Linked DNA regions of Homo sapiens: region 1 is linked to region 2. Evidence: promoter capture Hi-C in 16 types of primary human blood cells and fetal thymus (Javierre and others, 2016). All regions are on one chromosome and are shown on one strand. The core of a region is centred on a gene start or on the middle of the fragment in contact, and the rest is flanking DNA. Distances in the headings are between cores, read along the strand shown.

Evidence for each region. The method cuts DNA at HindIII sites, captures the fragments that hold promoters and counts their contacts. A CHiCAGO score of 5 or more calls a contact.
Region 1: a fragment that was not itself captured here is called in contact with the fragment with the promoter of TNFRSF11A in region 2 in 1 of 17 cell types (megakaryocytes); the score reaches 5.6 in megakaryocytes.

What each region holds. Positions count from the first base shown.
Region 1 is chr18:62,416,264-62,419,508 of GRCh38, forward strand. No RefSeq gene overlaps it. Among named protein-coding and RNA genes, the nearest start is that of TNFRSF11A, 93 kb to the left of the region's middle. RefSeq lists an enhancer at 2,122-2,171. The HindIII fragment of the contact is 6,401 bases long and covers 1-3,245 here.
Region 2 is chr18:62,323,051-62,326,571 of GRCh38, forward strand. TNFRSF11A (TNF receptor superfamily member 11a) reads left to right here and starts at 2,260. Exons shown (of 10, transcript NM_003839.4): 1 at 2,260-2,377. The coding sequence starts at 2,303. RefSeq lists silencers at 1,892-2,101, 2,152-2,351. The HindIII fragment of the contact is 5,361 bases long and covers 1,182-3,521 here.

The DNA.
Region 1 (3,245 bases), core at 175-2,674, 92 kb after region 2:
GCACAGTGGTTCACGCCCGTAATCCCAGCACTTTGGGAGGCCGAGGTGGGTGGATCACTTGAGGTCAGGAGTTTGAGACCAGCCTGGCCAACATGGTGAAACCCCTTCTCTATTAAAAATTAAAAAATTAGCTGGGCGTGGTGGTGCGTGCCTGTAATCCCAGCTACTCAGGAGGCTGAGGCAGGAGAATCGCTTGAACCTGGGAGACAGAGGTTGCAACGAGCCGAGATCGCGCCACTGCACTCCAGCCGGAGTGACAGAGTGAGACTCTGTCTCAAGACAATAAATGAATAAATGCAATTAAAAGTTTTAAAAAGTCCCAGATATCACATAATTTTATCTTTTAAAAAGCCTTTAGTTTATATCACTAAAGATAAGGCAATTTTTAAACATACTACAGTATCATCACATCTAAAAATATTAGTAATAATTCCTAGATACCATCAAATAAACAGAAAGTCTAGCTGTCATACCTGTACCCTCCTCTGTTGCCTCCCTCTCCCACAGTAATATTTTTTAGTTTTGATTTGTCCTTCAATTATTTTTTTATGTAAGCAAATAAATATAGTAAATATTTGTTGTTTTTTCCTTCACAGAGAAGAGGTAACCCATTATACACATTTTCTGCATCTGGATTGCACTTAAAAATTATTCTCACTTGACACCAATACATAGAAAACTTTGTTCTTTTTTTCAGCTACATAGTACTCCAACATGTGAAGGTACTTTATTCAACCATTACTCTGTTGATGGACATTTGGGCTATTCCCAGTTTTTTGCTCTTACTAGCAGTGTCATCATGAAAAGCCTTGTGTATATGAATTTCTTATTTTGAGAGCATCTTTGGAATAGATTCCTAGAAGTGGGATTGATGAGTCAAAAGGCAAATGCATATAATGTTGCTAGCTATTGTCAAACTCTCTTCTATAAAGATTATACCACTTAATATTGCCAGCAGAAATGAGTATGGTGTCCTTCTTTATGATTTTTTTGGCCCTCTGAGAAATGAGAAGTAGTATCTCAGTGAGGTTTCAATTTCCTTTTTTTTTTTTCTGTAATCTATATTTTGAGAACTTCATTCTAAGAGAACAAGACTCCTTTTGGACAGTAACACCATTGGAATTGTCAAAAAAGAAAAATCTTCCCTGGTTACATTATGTGTTGAATAAAGAAGTTTTTCTTGCAGATAGGCTTGAGTTGTCAAGTTTTCATTCAGAGCAGCTCAAGCATGGGGAGTTTATGAAAATGGAATCGTTGAAATTCATAGAATGAGAAGCCTCAAAGAGCTCTTTTTACCAGCATATTCCATTGAATACCTTTGGAGACATTCATACCCATCAAATACTCAGAGCATACTTTTTGAGAAGATTAAACCTAACTTAGAAGTTGGAGGTTCTTGGCACAATAAAGAAAAGCAATGCTTAACCCTGAAAGATTAACTGGGGAAAAACATGATACCTTCAGTCAAAACTTTATGGAACTTTTATTTTAAAAAACTTCATTTCACCCTACCCATGACCAAGTACCCCCCAAGAAATGTTTAGAACATATCATTTATATGAGCTGTTTGAATTTAAACACTGAATAAATGCTTGCAAAAGCATATATTTGTCCTAACTTCTATTTTATTTTTAAATCAACTTTGGCATTTTCACACTGTAAAGTGAGTTTTTTATGTGAGGGCTTGCTTTACAGAAATTTCAATATCCCATGTTTACAAAGAAGCACTCACTGAGGATTCAATTCTCTTGCAATTAATTTTCCCAAGTTGCCAGCTAGCAGGCTACCAATCTATGGAGCGTTCAACATTTAGGGATGAACTTTCATGGGCCCTGGGGATGCAAAGATTACTACTTTGTGGTTCCTCGGTAGAGGAGCTGAAAAGTAAACATGTAAATTAAAACAGCCTATGACATAGGACCAACCAGGGTGTGTTGTCATTGTTGACATGTATCTCTACCAGAAAAGTTCACTCTTCTTTATAAATGACAGCATTATTGAGCTGTTACCAACAGTAATTCACATGACCAATGGTGGACAACCAGGACTCCAAGATGGTGTCAGTTGCACCAGTGAAAGAGAGGAAAGTCATGGATGCCTAACTTGGGGAGCTGCCAAGCTGGCTATTGATGTGGGGTTTCACCCTGAAAGGCATGATTGGAGCATTTCAAAGAAGTTACTACCCGCATTAGAACAAGTGCCTCACAGGAAGGAAGGGAGCATTGCAGGGGTTTCTATAGCTGGCAGCTTACAGCTTTTCCTCTATGTTCTTTCTTACAAAGAGCTCAACTGTGAGCAACTCTGCAAGCATCACCTAAGAGGGGCCAGTGAAGGGTGCACTCTGCCCTTCTGACCATGACCTCCTTGGCCCATCACCCCTTTGTGAGAAACTCCATCACTGCTGAATCCTTTTATATCCTAATTGAGAACTAACGCCCAAACAGAAGATGACTGGTATGTGTAAAGAAATACAAATAATAAAATTCACATACCATATAATTCATCTCTTTAAAGTGCACAATTCAATGGGTTTTTTGTGTGTACATTCAGAGTTGTGCAACCATCACCACATTCAATTTTTAGAACAATTCATCACCCCCAAAAAGAAACTGTGCATCCACTCACAGTCACTCACTATTTCTTCCAACCTGCACCCCCCACCCCCAGCCCTGAGTGACCACTAATCTTTGCATTCTCCCTAGATTTACCTATCTGGGATATTTCATACAATGAAATGAAAATGAAATCATACAGTATGCAGTCGTGGTGACTGTCCTCTTTCATAATGTTTTTGAGGTTTGTCAATGCTGTACTATGTATCAGTATTTAATTCCTTTTTCTTTCCAAATCATAGTCCATTGTGGATATACTATGTTTTCTGTTGCTTACTGTTTGATATGGTTTGGATTTTTGTCCCCACACAAATCTCATGTTGAATTGGAGGACGGGCCTGGTGGGAGGTGACTGGATCATGGGGGCAGATTTCCCCCATGTTGTTCTCATGACAGTGAGTGAGTTGTCACAAGATCTGATGGTTTAAAAGTGTGTGACATATTGCGGCACTATTCACAATAGCAAAGACTTGGAAACAACCCAAATGTCCATCAATGATAGACTGGATTAAGAAAATGTGGCACATATACACCATGGAATACTATGCAGTCGTAAAAAAAGGATGAGTTCATGTCCTTTGCAGGGACATGGATGCAGCTGGAAACCATCATTCTAAACAAACTATCACAAGG
Region 2 (3,521 bases), core at 1,010-3,509:
AATATGAAAAAACTGACAGAAATAAAAGGAAAAATAGACAAATACAGTTATTGTTGGAAATTTCCACACTTTTTCTCAGAACAAGTAACGGAAAATCAGTATGGATATTTCAGCCTATTTGACCTGATTGACACTCATAATGTACTTTACTGACAACAGCAAAATACATAGCTTTTTCAAGTGCACATGGAATTTTGACCAAGATATGCCATGTGCTGGGCTAAAAGTAAGGCAAGTGAATAGTTCTGGCAATCCAGGAATTCAAAACAGGTTATATTCTATTGGCATGGGACAAGTATCTTCATATAAACAGTTACCTTATGATATGGTTTGGCTCTGTCCCCACCCCAAATCTCATCTTCAATTCCCACGTGTTGTGGCAGGGACCTGGTGGGAGGTAATTGAATCATGGCTGCAGGTCTTTCCCGTGCTGTTCTTGTGAAGTGAGTAAGTCTCATGAGATCTGATGGTTTTAAAAATGGGAGTTTCCTTGCACAAGCTCTCTCTTTGCCTGCTGCCATCCAGGAAAGATGTGACTTGCTCCTCCTTGCCTTTCACCATGATTGTGAGACCTCCCCAGCCACATGGAACTGTAAGTCCGTTAAACCTCTTTCTTTTGTAAATTGCCCTGTCTTTATCAGCAGCATGAAAACGGACTAATACATGATACAAAGGAGGGATTATACGTATGGATCCAACATCGACCTAGAATGTGAGGAAAGACACAATCCTAAGCAAGTAATGACAAACAAAAACAACAGGATGCTATTGAGATGGAGCAGGAACCCATCTTAGGAGCCTGTGGAGCACCCCTAAGCATGGAAATAAAGGAAAATCTTGAGTTCCTTCAAGGGAAATTCCAGGTACCTAGCTAGCCCTAAGAAGTAAATAAGTAACTTGATAAGCAAGAAGGTAATTATAGCTTAAAACAATAACCAAGGAAGTTAGATTCCCTATAGAAACGAAAGATAACATCTTAACATATGTCCCTGAATTGTTTCTCAGAAACCCAGACCCCCAACAAAACAGATCCACTGGCATGCAGACCTCAGACAAGGGGGAAATGAGGACGGAACTGACCACCATTCTTTCTTCTAAATTTCTTCCTGAAGGGCAAGGAGGAAGTCACACCCACGAGCCAGAGCTAACATTCATTTTTGCTGACCCCAAATTTTTAACAAAGCTTCTCTTCCTTCACTGATGGCAAGTCAGAAAATCTTTGAATGTATAACCTATAAGCACCCTCACTTTAAAGATTTTCAAGATATCCCAGCTTGTTAGACCAAACCAATGTGCAACCTCCGTGTATTATGATTTTGCCTGTAACTTCTGCTTTCTTGAAATTAACCCTGCGTTTAAAAATCCTTACTTGCAAGCCAACTGAAGGTCAGGATTTAAGCAAGAGCTGCCCCATTCTCCTTGCCTGGAGCTCTGCAGATAAGCGCCCTCTTTTCTCCCAGTGCAAACCTTAGTGCGGATGGCTTGGCCTTACTGCACCAGAAGAACGGACCTCAGTTTTTAGGTAACACTGTGCCCCAGACATCTGGCCACTTTATGTCTGAAAGGGCCAATGTGGTGATGGGGGCTGGGGGACGCCTCAAGGCTGGCGGAGCCTGGTGCCTTTCTAGAATTTGGTGGGTGCAGGACGGGTGAGGGGCGGAGGCAGAGGATCAGGAGAAGAAAAAGAGATAGTGGCTGCTGGCCCCAACATTTTGAAGCAAAGAACAAGAGGAGTATTTTACGAAGATTGGCGGATGGTGTATTGTGTTGATGCCTTAACTGCAGTCGACGAAATCTCCAGGAAGGATCCTCCTCCCGTTCATTCTCGACGGTGGCGCATCCACTTTCGGAAGGCCGGGCCTCGAAGGGTGGGCGCGCGGGGCAGGAGCAGGACCACCCCGATGCCCCCATTCCTTCCCGGGAGGCGGGGCCCACAGGCCTGGGGTGCGGCAAGGCAGGAGCCAGTGCCGTGAAGGGCAACCCAGGGCTGGTCTCCCGCCAACCTGTCTGCAGCCCGAGCACCTGGGCCAGGGGCGGAGACCGGACCAAGGAGGCACCGGGCGCGGCGAACACCCCCGGGGCCCCTCCCCGAGCGGGGCCCCGCGTCCCACCGCAAACCAGGGGAGCTTGGGCACCACCTGGCTGGCACCGCCGGGCCCGGCCGGAGGGGGGCGCAGGAGGGCGGCGCGGGGGCAGGTGCGGGGCGGGGCACGGGGGCGGGACCACACAGGGCCGCGGCAGCCGCGCCCGCTGGGCCACAGAGGCCGCTGAGGCCGCGGCGCCCGCCAGCCTGTCCCGCGCCATGGCCCCGCGCGCCCGGCGGCGCCGCCCGCTGTTCGCGCTGCTGCTGCTCTGCGCGCTGCTCGCCCGGCTGCAGGTAAGGAGCGCCCGCGCCTGCCGGGCCGCGCGGCCCGACGCCTCCTCGGGAGCCCCGGGAAGGGCCGGGGCCGGCGGCATCCTGGCTCCTCCGCCTTCCGAGAGGAGCCGGAGTTTTGGGGAGCGGAGGCCGTGGGAAGCTGGGGAGGCGCTTCCAGAGTTGGACGGCGGAGGGCGGGAAAGGGCAAGCGGAGGGAAACTGGGGCGCAGAAGGAGCAGGTTGGCGGGACCGCAACACCCGAAACGGGCTCTTCCAAAAGCCCCTCTTAGCCGCAGGCTTTGATGCTGTCATTTTCTCCAAATGCTTCTTGAGCACCTACTAAGCGCTTGCGCCGGGCGGTGCCGCGGGAGACAGCGCCGTGGGCACCTCACTTGCGGCAGATAACCGTTCCCGATACGATTTCTCCCGGGTGGCCTCCGTCCCAAATTTCCACCCGGAAAGAGACATGATTCCCTCCGTCCCTGAACTGCGGGCTTGCCTTTGCCTCCCCTGAGCCCCTTCGGGGACACCCCTGCCAGCTCGCCTGGAGGCCCCGCACGGCGGGGAGAGACTGCGCGCGCGCCCCGGGGATGCTGGACTTGACCCTCGCAGACCCGAGTGGCTTCCCGGTCCTCTCGGAACAGGTTTCTCAGTACAGTTAGCAAGCGAATGCAGCCAGGCACGGACTTTCTGCCTCGTGGAGGAGGGCCGCAGAGGGAAGCACACCCAGCACAACAAACGCTTTAAAAATCGTTGATACGAACTTGAAAGCTCTCACAGGGAAGGGCGAGTGGTGGTTTTCTTGGTTTCGGCTGGGTCAGATTTCCCCTCTGTTAACACTAGGTTAGGCTGCTGCCGTCCCTCCGCAGCCGGGCACGGAACCCGGAGAGGCGTGGGGAGGGACGCATGGAGAATCGTGTTTGGGTGAGAAGAGAGGGGAAAAGCCTTGACAGAAATAATGTGGGTGCACTGAAGGCTGAAGCAAAAGATTCTAGGGAAGATTCATTCCCAATTGTATGGGTCTGTCAGTATGGTTGAGGGAAACGAAGGCGGAAAAGTCTAAAGGATTTTTTCATTTTAAGCACTTCAGGTGTTGCTTAATTAAGTGTTCAACAGGTTGAACGGGGTGCTACCTTATTTGAACCAAAGGACCAGGGTTTCAGCG